2 separate regions of the Homo sapiens genome follow, and region 2 is linked to region 1. Evidence: promoter capture Hi-C in human tissues and cell types (Jung and others, 2019). All regions are on one chromosome and are shown on one strand. Each heading gives the region's core, a stretch centred on a gene start or on the middle of the fragment in contact. The rest is flanking DNA. Distances are from core to core; before and after follow the strand shown. Region 1 holds the start of DDIT4L (DNA damage inducible transcript 4 like). Region 2 has its middle 170 kb from the start of SLC39A8.

Region 1 (7,298 bases), core at 4,077-6,576:
GAAACTCCGAACATATCCGAACATCAGAAGGAACAAACACCAGACACGCCACCTTAAGAGCTGTAACACTCACTTCGAAGGTCTGCGGCTTCATTCCTGAGCCAGCGAGACCACGAACCCACCAGAAGGAAGAAACTCCGACATCCGAACATCAGAAGGAACAAACTCCAGACACGCCACCTTAAGAGCTGTAACACTCACTTCGAAGGTCTGCTGCTTCATTCCTGAGCCAGCGAGACCACGAACCCACCAGAAGGAAGAAACTCCGACATCCGAACATCAGAAGGAACAAACTCCAGACACACCACCTTAAGAGCTGTAACACTCACTGCGAGGGTCCGCGGCTTCATTCTTGAAGTCAGGGAGACCAAGAACCCACCAATTCCGGACAGACCAGTACCAGTCCATGGCCTGTTAGAAACTGGGTGCAAAGCAGGAAGGGAGCAGTGGGTGGGCAAGGAACAAAGCTTCATCTGTATTTACAGCTGCTACCCATTGCCTGCATTCCCACCTGAGTTCTGCCTCAGCTGCAACATTAGATTCTCATAGGAGCATGAACCCTTTGTGAACTGCCTGTGAGGGATCTAGGTTACCCATTCCTCATGAGAATGTAACTAATGCCTGTTGATCTGAAGTGGAACAGTTTCATCCCCAAAACATCTGCATCCTCAACTGAGGAAAAATTCTCTTCCACAAACAAGTCCCTGGTGCCAAAAAGGTTGGGGACTGCTGCTTTAACACATCTCTCCCTCTCACTTCCTTCTCCGTAATTCCCATTTTAAAGGTGAAAATAGAGGCACAGAAATGTTAAGTACCTAATCCAAGTTACACAGCTAGTAAATGTCACTGCTAGGAGTTAGGCTGCACAGTTCATGCACTAACTACTACACCATGAAGATGAAAAAACTGAATCATTCTGGACTAGTCAAATTTCTTAACCTTAATGTGCTTTAAATCTGCAGAATGGAGATCAGATCCCATTCTAAAAAGTACCCTGCAGAATTCCATATCTAGTCGACACTCAGGCATTCTCAGATTTAATTCTCTTCTTAAGCAACCCCACAGGTTTATGTCATGAAGTAATGTGTAATTTTGCTAGGATACAAATGTCAATGACAAAAGCTGTGCAAGGCTGGCCCACCAAAATAGGACACTTGGTTGATACAGGAAGGGAAACCAGTAAGGAACCCAACATTGACATGAGCATGTAGCTTTATTTTCCTCATCTCCTGGTGCACATTAAAATTCCAGAAAAAATGGTATGGCATAGTGGTATTCTCAAATTTGGAACTTGTAAAAGTTTTAAGATGTATCGCTAGACAAATGTCAAGGACCCACTCCATGTTCCTGGCTGACATCCTCTGATATGGTCACCTGAATTATACATTTTTCCATAATTAAGGAAAAGCAGATATTGTATGCATTTAAACATATTATCTCTATTTAAAGACTGATAATACACAGCATTGTTTATGAAGAGAACAAAATCATATAACTATATTAAGAGACAAGTTGCTATGGTAACCATTTCTCTGCTTAAAAAGAGAGGCAAACCCTTGTGTTATTGGAAGATTCTCTCAGCTTTTAATAGCAAGCATTATGTATTATTTTATGTATTGGGCCTGCTTTTTGTCTTATACGAGATAAGTTTCCATGTTACCTTACTTAACAGAATAAGTCATATTGAATATTTAATAATTAAATGGAAATTGTATTGGGTGATGCACCCTCAAAGGCAAATAAAAATTATGATTAAATATCTCACCGAGTATGTTAACAGATGATCACACATACCTTGAAACAACTGCGTCATTCTATAGTCAATAGTTTCAATTGTCTGTAGATGTTATTTATTTCCAGAAAACTATTTCCTAGATTAATAGAGGAAAGTTAACATATAAAACTCTGTATTTTACACCAAGATAATTTTTTACCCACATTATTTTCTTACGTTTCATTGGCAGATCCTTTCCTGCTTTCCCATACAGTGATGGATGTATTATAATAAAAAAGGCTTTCCTAATCAGTGCCAATACTTTCCAGATTTCCTGCAAACAGGAAAGATCATAAATTTTCTTATACTTTAACAACACTTCCCCAACTCCATTTAGCCACTTGCTTGTTGCACTGACCCAGATAACTACAATTTCAGAACATAATAACAGCAATAATAATAATATCACTCATTAAGTTCTTGCCTAATATCAGTATTAGTTTGGTTCTAAGCACTTTGCATGAGACACCAAATTTACAAACTTAGCACAACTAAGGGAATCTAGAGGCAGTGTGCATTTAAAGATCTCATATTTGTTTATAAAAAAGAGATAATATTTAGCATTGATTTTAAGGGTTTCTCTTTTAATCCTTACAATAACCCCATGAGCTTACTGCTAATGTATAGATCAATTTCCATGTCCTGTAAGTTTTCCCTGAATTGCACAGATTAAGAAACTCAGTAACTTTCCCTCAGGTGTCATAGTTTATGAAATAAAATAAGCTATGTGTGGAACGTAAATGTATTAATAAGATTCAAAAATAAGTGTTCATACCAAATAAAGACAGAAAATTGGCTAGTGAAACACGTAATGAACATTCAACACTCCAAATCACAAATGCAAAAGACACCAACATTTCCTGTAATAATACATGAAAGCATCATTTTTGCTTTTTGTTTTTTCAGTATCCCTGGCATTGTGAATTTATACTTTACATAAGCAATGACATTATGAATACTATATTTATACCTGAGGAAGCCTAGAACTTAAATATTTGCAAATACATCAGATGAACATATGGTTGCCAGTTGTTACTGCTATCTCATTTTCTTTCTGTAAGAAGATGGATTAGTGAATTATAGTAATAAAAAAGCAAGCATGCTTAAGTTAAAGCCTTTGCCTATGATTTAGATAGTTTCTTATAATACATTGGTGTATGAAAGGAAATCAAATTATTTAACTGACTAGATTTTCTATTCATACACAACTATTTCCAGTAAGCACTCCCACAAACTGTTTATATAGTATTAGTTAGAGGATATAATGAAAGAGCAATAAAACAAACTTCTTTATCACTGCACTTAATAAACACCTGAAGTTCCCCAATGCGAACTTTCAGTTATAAATAATTGACTGTATCCACATTTTTCTGAAATCTGATAGACTGTGTCACCTTGCACTTAGCCTATAATGGCACTTAGTTTTTCCTAATTCTTCTCTATGCTTCAAATTTTTAAAAAATCAGTTCTGTTTAACCTTGTGAAGATGCAAACTGGTGATAGAATGGATTTTCTACGCTTTTAAGTAGATAAAAAAGGACATTCTTAATTATTCCAGGTATGTGTTTTACCTCAATCATTCCTTATGCCCTGTATGTCCTGAGAGCAAGGCCCATTCAGCCAAGAAGATATTATTTGAAGTCTTTTGTACATAAGTAAATTGTTTTCTGAAGTCAAATCCCAAAGGGCTTTGCAAAATTTCATTTAGTCAGGTGGGCCAAGAGCAACTACTACTTTCTGTAAGTTCCAATAATCTTTCTGGCCCTATGGGGGCATTTACTCTATGAATTATGCCTAAATACCCTAAGGAAATTGAAACGAGTAATTTCTTTATTTCGCTAGTATTGGTTCAGACCACTCATTATATTAATTCTAAAAATCCTCCTTGGAGGCAGGTTAAGTGGCAGCCTCATTAGTAATGCTGCCCAGACAAGGACAAGAGGCTCTGTGGCCTGCCCAGGGACTGACTGTCAGGCGGCTGGCATCCAACTCCTGACCATGGGCCCATCCATTGGTCCTGAACACCCTAGCCACTGAAACCGCTTTTTAATTGGCTTAAATGGGCTTGTTTATTTTCCACTTTTCTGTTTATTGAAGTAGAAGTGGAAACTGGCCTTCAAAGACCAGTCTATCAGCATCTCCTTCCTTGGCTCGCCTGACCTTCAGGCAGTGCAGCTGCCTGAACTGAGTTAAAAATGGACTGTCAAGCTGGCTTTAATTTCTGCTGCTCTGCGTCCGAATGTCCTCCCACTGATCTGTTTATCACACCCTCTATACCCCTTCTGTTGTTGTTTTTCTAAGAGTTTTATGCCAGGACAGCTGAAACTGCCTTTCAAGGTTCTAACCTGCAAATCCTTCTACACATAATCCTAGAGGGCCTGGGAGCCAACACTGGGATCTCTACTGTAGGAACAACCTTCTCCCTCCAGGCATCCCCTAACGCACCCCAAGCTGACTCTCTGAACAGATCATCTCCTACTGGCACACCAAAGCGAGAAAACCGTGGCTTAATAACTTTGGAAGAAAAAAATCAGGTTTGGCTTCTTGCTCATGGGCTATGCGGGCATGTTGCCTCTTTCCAGGGCTCCTCTGCCTCTCTGTGTGTTCCTGTGCAGGACCGCACGGAGCCCTCACAGGGATTATCTGCTGATCCCCAGCAGAATATAAAACTCTTTATCTTCAGTCTCTGAAACCTCTTCAAAATATCCCAAACCAAAGATCCTCCCAACAGGGCTCGCCAGAAACTTCTGCCTCCGGAAATGACAGTTGCTCTCGATGCACGGATAGAGGAGTACCTAAGATCCTACTAATGGTATTGTGTGTTTCTTGGCAAACTCCCGCTCAATTCAAGCTCCCCGCGCTCTGGGGCAAGGTCTAATTAGAAGAGTGCCAGGCTCACCCTTCCTGCGAAGAAAACGCATTAGCCACAGATGTAAGTGCACGAAGAATGCCAGGGAGCCACGGAGTGCGTGGGGTCATTAAGGCCCTTCTTAAAATGCTGGCGAGCCTTCGATGCGGGAAAGGAAAACTAGATCTGACCGCTTGCAGCAGAGGAGGATACAGAAACCCTGGGAGGCAGAGTAGAGTTGACTGGGTTAGAGGCCAGAAATAAGTGCATAAATGATGCTCAGTGGACGTTGCAACAGATTTAAGCCAAGTGTTCAGGATGACACAGCAAAGCCCCAGGACAAGGAAATGCACAGATCGCTTAAAGCTTCCCGCTGCCGGGAGCAGCCTGAGTGTGAAAGCGCGGACGCTCGGGGAGGGGTCGCACTGAACAATCAGGTTCAGGCTTTGACGAGTCGTGCACCCGGAATTGCGGTCCCAGTGGCCCGAGATCTACCCTGGAAGCAACAGGTGTCCGCTCTACCACAGGCTTATCCTCAACTCCCTGTGGCTAGGCTCGGGCTCCCTGGAAGTGTAGAGGTTGAAAGGGGACCAGACTCTGGAGGGGAGGGGCGGGGCGCTGGCCGGGGAGGGGCGGTGCAGGTGGGCGGGCCTGAGCAGGGTGGGGACTGGACCTATAAAGTTCTCGCTGCCCCGGAGGCTATGCTACTGCGAGGAGCCGGCGCAGGGTGGCCCGGGAGGGGTGAGCAGGGTGCCGCTGGCTGCTGGGGTCTGCAGGTCACCGAGTCCCCAGGAGAGGGGACTCCTAAGAAGCCACCTGCCTGTGTTTACCCGGCAGCGAGCGCGCAGGCCCCCGCGAACTCCTGGCAGGTGAGCGAAGCTGCGGCCTTGGTGGGGGCAGCGGGGCCGGGGGGCGCTCCGCGGGGCAGGTCGCTTCCAAGTTTTGCGAACTGTTGAGTTAGTTTCAGGTTGCGGCTCCGCTCCCAGGGCTTTGTCAAATTGAGTTGCAGAGGCCGGTTCCACCCCTTTGGCAAAGGAGTTCCTCCGCTAGTTCGCTCCCGGGACGCCGGGCATTTTAGGAGCCTCTGCACGACTCGCCTGCTTTTGCAAATCCGTCTCTTCTCGCCTCATTTTTTCCAGCGCTCAGGAAAGGCCGTTGCGCCTCGCGAAGGAAACAGAGCCGTTGACCATGGTTGCAACTGGCAGTTTGAGCAGCAAGAACCCGGCCAGCATTTCAGAATTGCTGGACTGTGGCTATCACCCAGAGAGCCTGCTAAGTGGTGAGTGTCCCCGCTGTCCACCCTTCTCCCCTCCCAAGGTCGGTGCCTCTGGATCTATTGGGTGGGCGGGCTTTCGACTTCCTCCCCTACCTCTATGTAGGAGGTGCCACAAAATCCATCTGAGGAGACTCCTTTCCAAATTTTCTAACATCTTCTCTCCATGATAGAAACAAAAGTAGCAAAAGTAGAATACCCGAGGGCTGCATCTTTCTAGTCTGGTGCCAGTAGGCCCCTTGGGATTAAGTTCCTTATCTTACATGATTGTGAAGAACACAGTTATGTGTGTTTTAGCAAATGTATTTACCCTGTAATCAATATCGCCCCTCCCCCTGAATTCCGACGCACCTATTTGCCAGGTATTCCTCACTCTCCCCTGACTCCAGGGAACTACTGATCTGATTTTTATCATTCCAAGTTAGTTTTGCCTTTAGGTAAGTGGAACCATACAGTAGGTATTCTTTTGTGTCTGGTTTCTTTCCCGCAGCCTAATGTTTTTGAGATTCTTTTATGTCCGTTGCTTAAATCAGTGTGTTCGTGTTTATTGTTTATTACTGAGTAGGATTTTCAGTCGTGGATATATCCATTATTCCATTTTTAATGTGAGAAGGAAACTGTTGAACAGCAGCGGTGCTTGACTTGCTGTCATTTGGAATTTTAACAGCAGTTTCTAGGTGAACACACTGCTCTGACACTAAAGAGCTGTAAGAGCATAGATAAACTGCTTAAGCTCTTCGTGTTTTTCTCCTTTCAAGGTGAAGTGGTTGATGACCTAATTTACAGGCCAGAACTCCAAACTTACACGAAGTGGAGAGGAAAAGCCAGTGGCTGATGAAGGTGGAGTAGGCTTAGAGAGAGGAGCTGGGAGGGCATCTGCCTGCACCTTGTTCATTTGACTCCGTGTGGTGTGGCATCCTGCCAAGGGGTAGGATTAATTTGAGGTGTAGGTGACCAAATGCAGAGCTATCTCTTTTCCTTTGAGCCCAGCTAATTTTATTTCCCTAGGACTATTTTGTTTTGCTTGGCTAAGAAAAACCACCCAGCCGGTTACAAATATCCTCATGAACCTCAAAGGTCTTCTCTGCACAATTTTTAATTAAAGAGGCTAAAGCTAAAATTGGGACCTACAGGCCACTCCAGTAAAGACTTAAAGACACAAATTTGATAGATCTTTAATATAACTCTTAAAGCTTTAATACAACTCTTCAAACATAATAGTAAAAATTCTTTATTTTACAATACATGTATTCCTACAGTTAGAAAGTAACAACCCCTTAGTCCAAAAAACAAAGTTATAACTTTTTATTCCAGAAGTAATGCATGTTTTCTGTAAAACAAAATTAGAAAACCCCCATAAGCAAGTAGGAGAAAAGAAAAGAAAATCACCAATAATCTGGGAT
Region 2 (7,484 bases), core at 815-3,314, 2.0 Mb before region 1:
CATTGTATGTATTGATACCACAGTTTCTTTATCCACTTTTTGATCGATGGGCATTTTGGTTGGTTCTACATTTTTTGCGATTGTGAATTGTGCTGCTATAAACATGCGTGAGCAAGTATCTTTTTCATATAATGACTTCTTTCATTCTTAGTCGTGTTCCAGTTGAATGATAAATTAGATATATGGTCTCCTTATCCTTTGCCATCTCCCTATTGCCAATTTTGCCCAGGTATTCCTCAGCTTCAGGAGTGGGTCCTGATTAGGCAATGACAATTATGCTAATTTCACCCTTGTTTGAAATTGGTTCAGCAACACTTGCTCAAGTCAATTAGAGCATAGGATTCTTGGATTGTGATTGGTCCAGGAGTGAGTAAAGGTCCTAATCTGGCCAAATGAGATTAAAAAGCAGGACCATGACTAAAATGATAGTTTTTCTTTTTTTCAATGAATGACATAATATATTGTCCTACTGTTGCTGGTAGTCATCTGATGAGCCTTACACAAGCAAGCTCAGGAATAAAATTGCACACAGAGTGGGCATAACACAGAGAATTGGAAAGAAACTAGACTCTTCATTGTACCACACCTAAACCAGCCTTAACTCCACACTTCTTGATACGTGAAAAGAGACGTTTTCTTATTGCTTCAGTTGATTTGAGTCCAGGACTTTTATTATTTTCAGCTAAATGCATCCTAAATGAGATAATGTTTATTCATTTGCTGTGGTTGCTAGAACAACTTATCACAACTTGGTGTGTTAAAAGAACAAAAATTTATTCTTTCATGGTTCTGGAGTCCAGAAGTCTGAAATCAGTTTCACTGGGCTAAAGTCAAGATGTTGGCCAGGCTAGCTCCTTCTGGAGGCTCTAGGGGAGATGCCTTTTCTTGCATTTTCTAGGTTCTGATGGGCTCCTGCATTTCTTGGCTCAGGGCCCCTTCCTTGAACTCCTCTAATCTCTTGCTTCTGTTTTCACATCTCCTACTTCTAAAATCTAATATTCACCCCTGCCTCTCTCTTATAATGACATTTGTGATTACATTTAAGACTCACCAGATAATGCAAGATAAGCTTCCCATCTCAGGGTCCTCAATCCACATTTGCAAAGTCCCTTTTGTCATTTAAGGTAACATATTCATGGTTTCTGAAGATTAGGCTATGGATGTCTTTGATGACTCTTTTTCAGTCTACTACACAATGCTTTTGACTATAGTGCAGAATGACAAAGATTCTGCAATGGTAAGATAGGTGACATAGGATGTAGACTGTAACTTTTTTCTAATGTCTTAGAATGTGAACTGAGTCATAAACCTGAGAATGGTAGGTGGTAAGTACACATATATTATAAAGAAAGATGGTAAACATATTCATGACCAAATTACTGAGAGATAGCAGAATCTCTCTAGAAACTATTAATCCAGCTACCAACTTTTATTTTATATAAGAACAGGCACTTTAAAGTGTGATTGGAGAGAGAATAGTTATAATAGGTGTGTCTCTGTTGTAATTAGGAGTACCATGGAAATTCTCCCCAACCAAGGGAATAGAGACTGAGATGCCAGCACTCATCTCAAGTCATTTGATGAGTCTCCAAGAATTTAAGTTTTAAAATCTGGAGATGCCAGGAAAGTAGAAGAGACTGGAATCTTGTTTTCTGACTGGATGATTATGTAGCTACAGAAATGTTTAACTCTTGCCTAATCTCACCAGATGGGGTTTGGTGGGAAAATTCTTCAGAGGCCTTGATAAACCCAGTAGAGCAGAGACATACATAAACAAAGAAACTGATGCCTGCTTCCTGCCTGTTTCTAGTATGGAGAATTTTTTTTTTTTTTTTTTTTTTTTTTTTTTTTTTTTTTTTTTTGAGATAGAGTCTTGCTCTGCCACCGAGGCTGGAGTGCAGTGGCGCAATCTCGGCTCACTGCGACCTCTGTCTCCTGGGTTCAAGTGTTTTTTTTGTTTCTTAACCCCTGGAGTAGCTGGGATTACAGGTACATGCCACCATGCCAGGCTAATTTTTGTATTTTTAGTAGAGATGAGGCTTCATTCACCATGTTGGCCTGGCTGGTCTTGAACTCCTGGACTCAAGTGATCCATCCACCTCTGCCTCTGAAAGTGCTAGTGTGAGCTACAGGTGTGAACCACCCTGCCCAGCCCCTAGTATGGAGAATTCTCAAGCCATGAAGCTGGCTGGAACAACCTGCAATGGCAGGACAAGTAGAGGGCAAAGGGGAACCACCAAAGAGTATACAATGTGCCCTATGAGAGAACTAACATTTGGGCATCTGCCTTTGGGCATGTGCTATGGCAAATTATAAAATATCTGTCATATAAGATATCCTTATTTTCCTAATCTCCCCTGTTTGCTATCTTGACCCTGGGAGAACGTGTAGCAGAGGTAATGTAGATGGAGAAAGGAAGGTGAGAAACAGACTAAGACTACTTCATTATTGCAGCTATCACATCCAAAGATCAAGTTTCAGTTCTGCGGAGGAGTGAAGATTTGGAATGGAAGTTAGATTGAACTTCTGATTTAGTCTGGATTTTTTTTTTTTTTTTTAGCATCTGAGAGTGAATTACAATTACTTAAATGAAATTGTTCTTGTCACTGAAAGAGACCAAAAAGGCTTGGGATATGCCTGGAATATTATCTTAGAAAAGCAAAGGAAGTTTGCAACAGACAGTATTAGTCAGAAAGGCTGGAGAAAAAAGTGAAGAAGTTTACTTCTTTTGGTAAACTCCTATATAGGTAAGAATATGTTAAAGAATAGAGAATAATAAAAGCGTGAATATGGCAGCAATATAAAGTAGTAGATGCACAACTAAATATTAATATATTTTGAAGCTAAGAAAGTACCCAATATTAGAACTAATCTTTAGGTCTCTTAAAAAACAAAGCATAGCAATAACAACAGCAAAATAAACCAAACTACAGCCTATTTGACCAAATGTTATTTTTCATTGAAAATAGAAATAACTTAGTTATTTACTGACAATTTATAGCTTCAACTTTTCCAAAATTGCATTGCTTTTTTCATTTTGGTTGTTTTGCAATTATTCTTCAAATATAGGATGACATTTCTGATTTGAGATAAGTAAAATATCCTATTCTACTCTTTTTTCTTTACCTCAATACATGACTCACATGAAGAGGAGGCACTTGTGGAAACAAGAGCAGGAATACTGAAAGAATACTGTACATGGTATTTTTCTGTTCATTTTATCTAATAGAAATTTTAAAATAAATCTTTCATGTGACAGATTAGGTAACAGCAAGCGTGAAGATCTTTCTTCACAGCTTGCTTTTACTGTGCCATTTCCTTTCATTTCCTGTAAGTGTGTTTGGCCCACAGACCTCCCATTAGTTTTAAAGGGATTCAGTGTCTAAATATACACTAGGACATGAAAATCTGTCCTAGTAAGGAAAAACCTCTGCTGTCTAATGCAATAGTGCTTCAGGCTTCAGGGGAATCCTTCTGAAAGATTAGATTAATTCTACTTCCTGCCACTGCCAATGATTAGACAGGGAAATAATGTGGCTTTAAAATGAACCAACTGCACAGAGGACATTCATTAAACCACCAACTGTAGAAAATAATATAAAAATGTTTTCTTTTTAAATCTAAGTGTGAGGGATCAAAGTGCAGGAGGAGGCTTTGTTGGAATGCCTAGATAAAGCAGAGTCAGTCTTTAAATGCTAAAGACTTTACATCTGTTAAAAATATGAATGTGTATATTAACTTATTCAACTGATAATTTTTGAACCCCAGATATTTGCCAGCCACAGTTGTAGATGCCGGGAATAGAATAATGAGCAAAATATACAAAACATCATGTATTCACGTAGTTTACATTCTAGAGTGCAGAAATAGGTAGTAAATATAAAAAATTTTATGTATATGTATTGATGTGCATTGTATATGTATGTACATCTATATATGTACAAATAGACATAATGATCTCTATGTATTTTATCTATATTCATATTCATATAGTGATAAGTTCTATAAAACTCTTATCTCCAAGGAAGTGGAAGAAAGGAAGAGGAAGTCATTTTAAATAGAGTGGTCCTGGAATTCCTCATTAATTAAGCCACTGATTAAATATCTGAAGGAAGTGCGAGAGTTAGACATCGTAATTTCTGGTGAAAGAGGTTTCTAGGTAAAGGAAGAAGCAAGTGAATATTATGCTTGGTGGATAGAAAAGGGGTCAGAGCTGGGTGTGATGTTGTATGCTTGTAGTCCAAGCTACTCAGGAGGCTGAGGCAGGAGGATTGCTTGAGTCCAGGAGTTCGAGGCTAGCCTGGGCAACGTAGTGAAACTTCACTTCTAAAAACGAAAAGAAAAGAAAAGAGGCAAGTATGATATGGCTGAGAGAGAGAGAGAGGACAGTGGTGATAGATGAGGACAGAGAGGTCACAGTGATGCAGATGACATAGAACCTCATAGGCCATGGTAAGGCATGAGAGTTTTTCCCTGAGAGGGATAAAGCCATTGAGGGGCTTGAGTAGAGAGTGATAAGAGCTTGATCATAGTTTTGGAAGGGTCACTCTGGTTTCTGAGTTGAGAATAAATTGCCTAAGGGACAGAAAACTGGCTAGGAGTCCATGGCATTATAATAATCTGGGGAAACGATTGTGATGGCTCTGAGCAGGGTGGGGAGTGGTTGGGGTGGTGATAACTGGATATATGTTGAAGAAAGATCTAATAAGATTTGCTGATTCATTGGACATGGCATATGAGAAAAAGAGAACATTCAAAAATGGCTCCAAGGTTTTTGGTCTGAGGAATTGGCAGGATGGAAGAAGTGTTCCTTATTGAAATGGGGCAGGGAGTGGGAGGGGCAGGTTAAAAGGAAGTTCTGCCTTGAATGTGTTAAGTTTAAGTAGTCTTTTAGACAATCATGTGGATAAATCTAAATAAAATCTAGAAAGTGAGCATGGATAAAGATTGCATCCTAAGAGAGTCTATTTAGACTTGGGAAGTGCGCATGAGGCAGCAAAGAAGATAGGAAATGGCCAGTGAAGCTGGAGGAAAATCAAGACCGTGTATTATTTAGAAATTAAATGAGGGACGTTTTCCAAGGGAGCATGGCTGACCGGTCAACTCCATGGCTGACCAGTCAACTCCCGGACTGCTCAGCCATGCTCCCTTGGAAAACTTCCCTCAATGAGTTGACCAGTGATTTGGTCAAAGAGGCGTTCATTGGTGTCCTTGATAAGAGGAGTTTTAAGTGAAATGGTGATGGAGAGTGAAAGCCTTATTATATTACAGAGAGCTTAAGAAAAAATGAGAATAAGTTGGAGGTAGTAAGTATAGGAAAATTTTAAAGGAGCTTTGCAACAAAAAGGAGCAGCCACATGGAGGATAACCGGAAGGGGATATGAGGTCAAGGAGAGGGTTTTTTCATGTTTTGCAGATGGTGGAAATTATAGCAGTTTTTGTTTGTACACTGATGGGAATGTCACACTGCAAAGTGGAAAATTAATAATGGAAGACAGATGAGAGAATAACTTAACTGATGTGTTTGTGTAGGTGAGAGACAATGGGATTTAGTGCACAAGAGGGATTGCCTTTAGACAGGAGCAGGTACAATCCATCTGAAGTAATTGGTGGGAAGGCAGACTATGTGGGTGCAGATGCTGGTTTGTGAATAAATGCAGTGTGGGCACCACTGGAAATTCTTTTGTTATTTTCTGAAATGGAAATACATTCTGCATCTAAGAGTGAGGATGGGGGAAAAGATATTGGAGATTAGAGGAGGGAGATAGTTTTTTAAGAGGCTTCAAAATTTAGCGAACTAGTAAAACATAGAAGGATAATTGGTCTGCACTAAGGGCAAATTACTTGCTTACTGTGTCCTAACCTGTCACCTGCAAGTCTTGTTTTACCATTTCTATTAGATAACTTATAGTGAAGGGAGTCAGCATTGTTTTATGTTTCTCCAGCTTACATTAAGTGCCTGGGAACAGACATGGCATAGGCAAAATTATGGCTATTATCAGTTTTTCTGGAGTTTGAGATCTTGCCAATTACATGTGATGAAGTGAGAGAGGAATGGGAGAGAAGTATAAGAGAGAGGCTATAAGTGAGTGAGGGCTATAATGATGGGCTACTGAATTTAAGAAGGGCAAGTAGGGAAGTGAGGACAGGAAGGTGAGGGGCAGTACAAGATGTATTTGATTCATGAATTTTAGATCTTGGTGAAATAAGGAACTGTTGGAGTGAGAGCACTAGAGGAAATATAGGCATGGTGGTCCAAGAGTGTGATGCTTAGTACTGGCTATGACAAGGTATATAGACTGTAAGCAGGACAGTGGGAGAGAATGACTGAGCTAGGAAGATATAGTCATCATAGGAGAGGAGGATGGAGGAACTGAGAGGCAGTTATATCACTTTCAGCTTTTTTTCTTTTCTTATGCCAGCACCTAATTTCTTAATAATTGTACTTTTATAATAAAACCTAATATTCAGTGGGGCAAGTTCTTTCACTCATTTTTTTCTTTAAGAATGTCTTGGCTAGGCATAGCCTTTACATTTCTACATTTTCGTAGACATTTTTTAGTATTGGTTTGTCAAGTTACACACACACACACACACACACACACACACATACTTAACATTGGAATTTTTATTAGGATTGTATTCAATCTATTAGTGAGATTTGGCAACTTTATGATATTGAGCCTTTTGTTCATGTTCAGGGTATATCTTCTCATTTACTGAGGTTGTTTTGATTTCTTTCAATAACATTTTATAGTTTTCTGCATTAAGTCCTTCCACACTTTTGCTAGATTTATGATGCTTATGCGTGTGTCATCTGTAGTGGATGTCATGGTGTACCACCTAAACCCTCCTCTTGGAGCTGCTGGGAGTGTTAGGGGTTAACAGCATTCAGCTGAGTCTCCCTGGAGCTTGCCTTCAGTTGAAGAGAGTCACCTGGCCTAAGGTCACCTCGCACCACTCCCACCTTCCAAAGAGGATTCAATGTAAGAATATAAAAGCCTGAGAGGTCCCCTTATCCCAATTTGAGACCCTTTGAAGCACCATCCCAACTTCAGAGCCTCCTGTAGGATTGATTGGCTGAGTCCTTGTTGTCACTGCATTGAAATTTAATTTTCCCTTTGCTCAATCCTACTTTCTTCACTCTCCATATGTTGGTTTTGAGAATACATCCCAGTAAGTTATGGAAATATCTTTCTCAGAATCTGCTTCCTAGAAAATTCAAATAGTTGCAGTATTTTTATAAAATTTAAATTTTTAAAATTGTTTTTTTCCTGATTTATGGAAATGCAATTGGATTTTGTACAATGAGCTTGCATTTATCAAAGTTGCTAACTTAATATATTTTCAAGTTTTATCTGTATGGTTTTGGTTTTCTACATATGCAAACATATTTTCTGTGAGTGACCTTTTTTTTCCTCTTCCTTACTAGACATTATATAGTCATCCCTCAGTATAGGCTGGGAATTGGTTCCAGGACCAAA

The links. Contacts are between HindIII fragments. The study calls those that stand out against the background at their distance.
Region 2: a fragment that was not itself captured here is called in contact with the fragment with the promoter of DDIT4L in region 1 in 1 of the 25 tissues and cell types used here (lymphoblastoid cells).

What each region holds. Positions count from the first base shown.
Region 1 is chr4:100,188,496-100,195,793 of GRCh38, reverse strand. It overlaps DDIT4L (DNA damage inducible transcript 4 like), which reads left to right and starts at 5,326. Exons shown (of 3, transcript NM_145244.4): 1 at 5,326-5,491; 2 at 5,762-5,901. The coding sequence starts at 5,811. It overlaps DDIT4L-AS1 (DDIT4L antisense RNA 1), which reads right to left and starts at 5,761. Exons shown (of 5, transcript NR_125924.1): 1 at 5,720-5,761; 2 at 2,745-2,828; 3 at 1,952-2,048; 4 at 1,795-1,871. The HindIII fragment of the contact is 5,141 bases long and covers 2,729-7,298 here.
Region 2 is chr4:102,176,160-102,183,643 of GRCh38, reverse strand. No RefSeq gene overlaps it. Among named protein-coding and RNA genes, the nearest start is that of SLC39A8, 170 kb to the left of the region's middle. The HindIII fragment of the contact is 5,021 bases long and covers 1-4,574 here.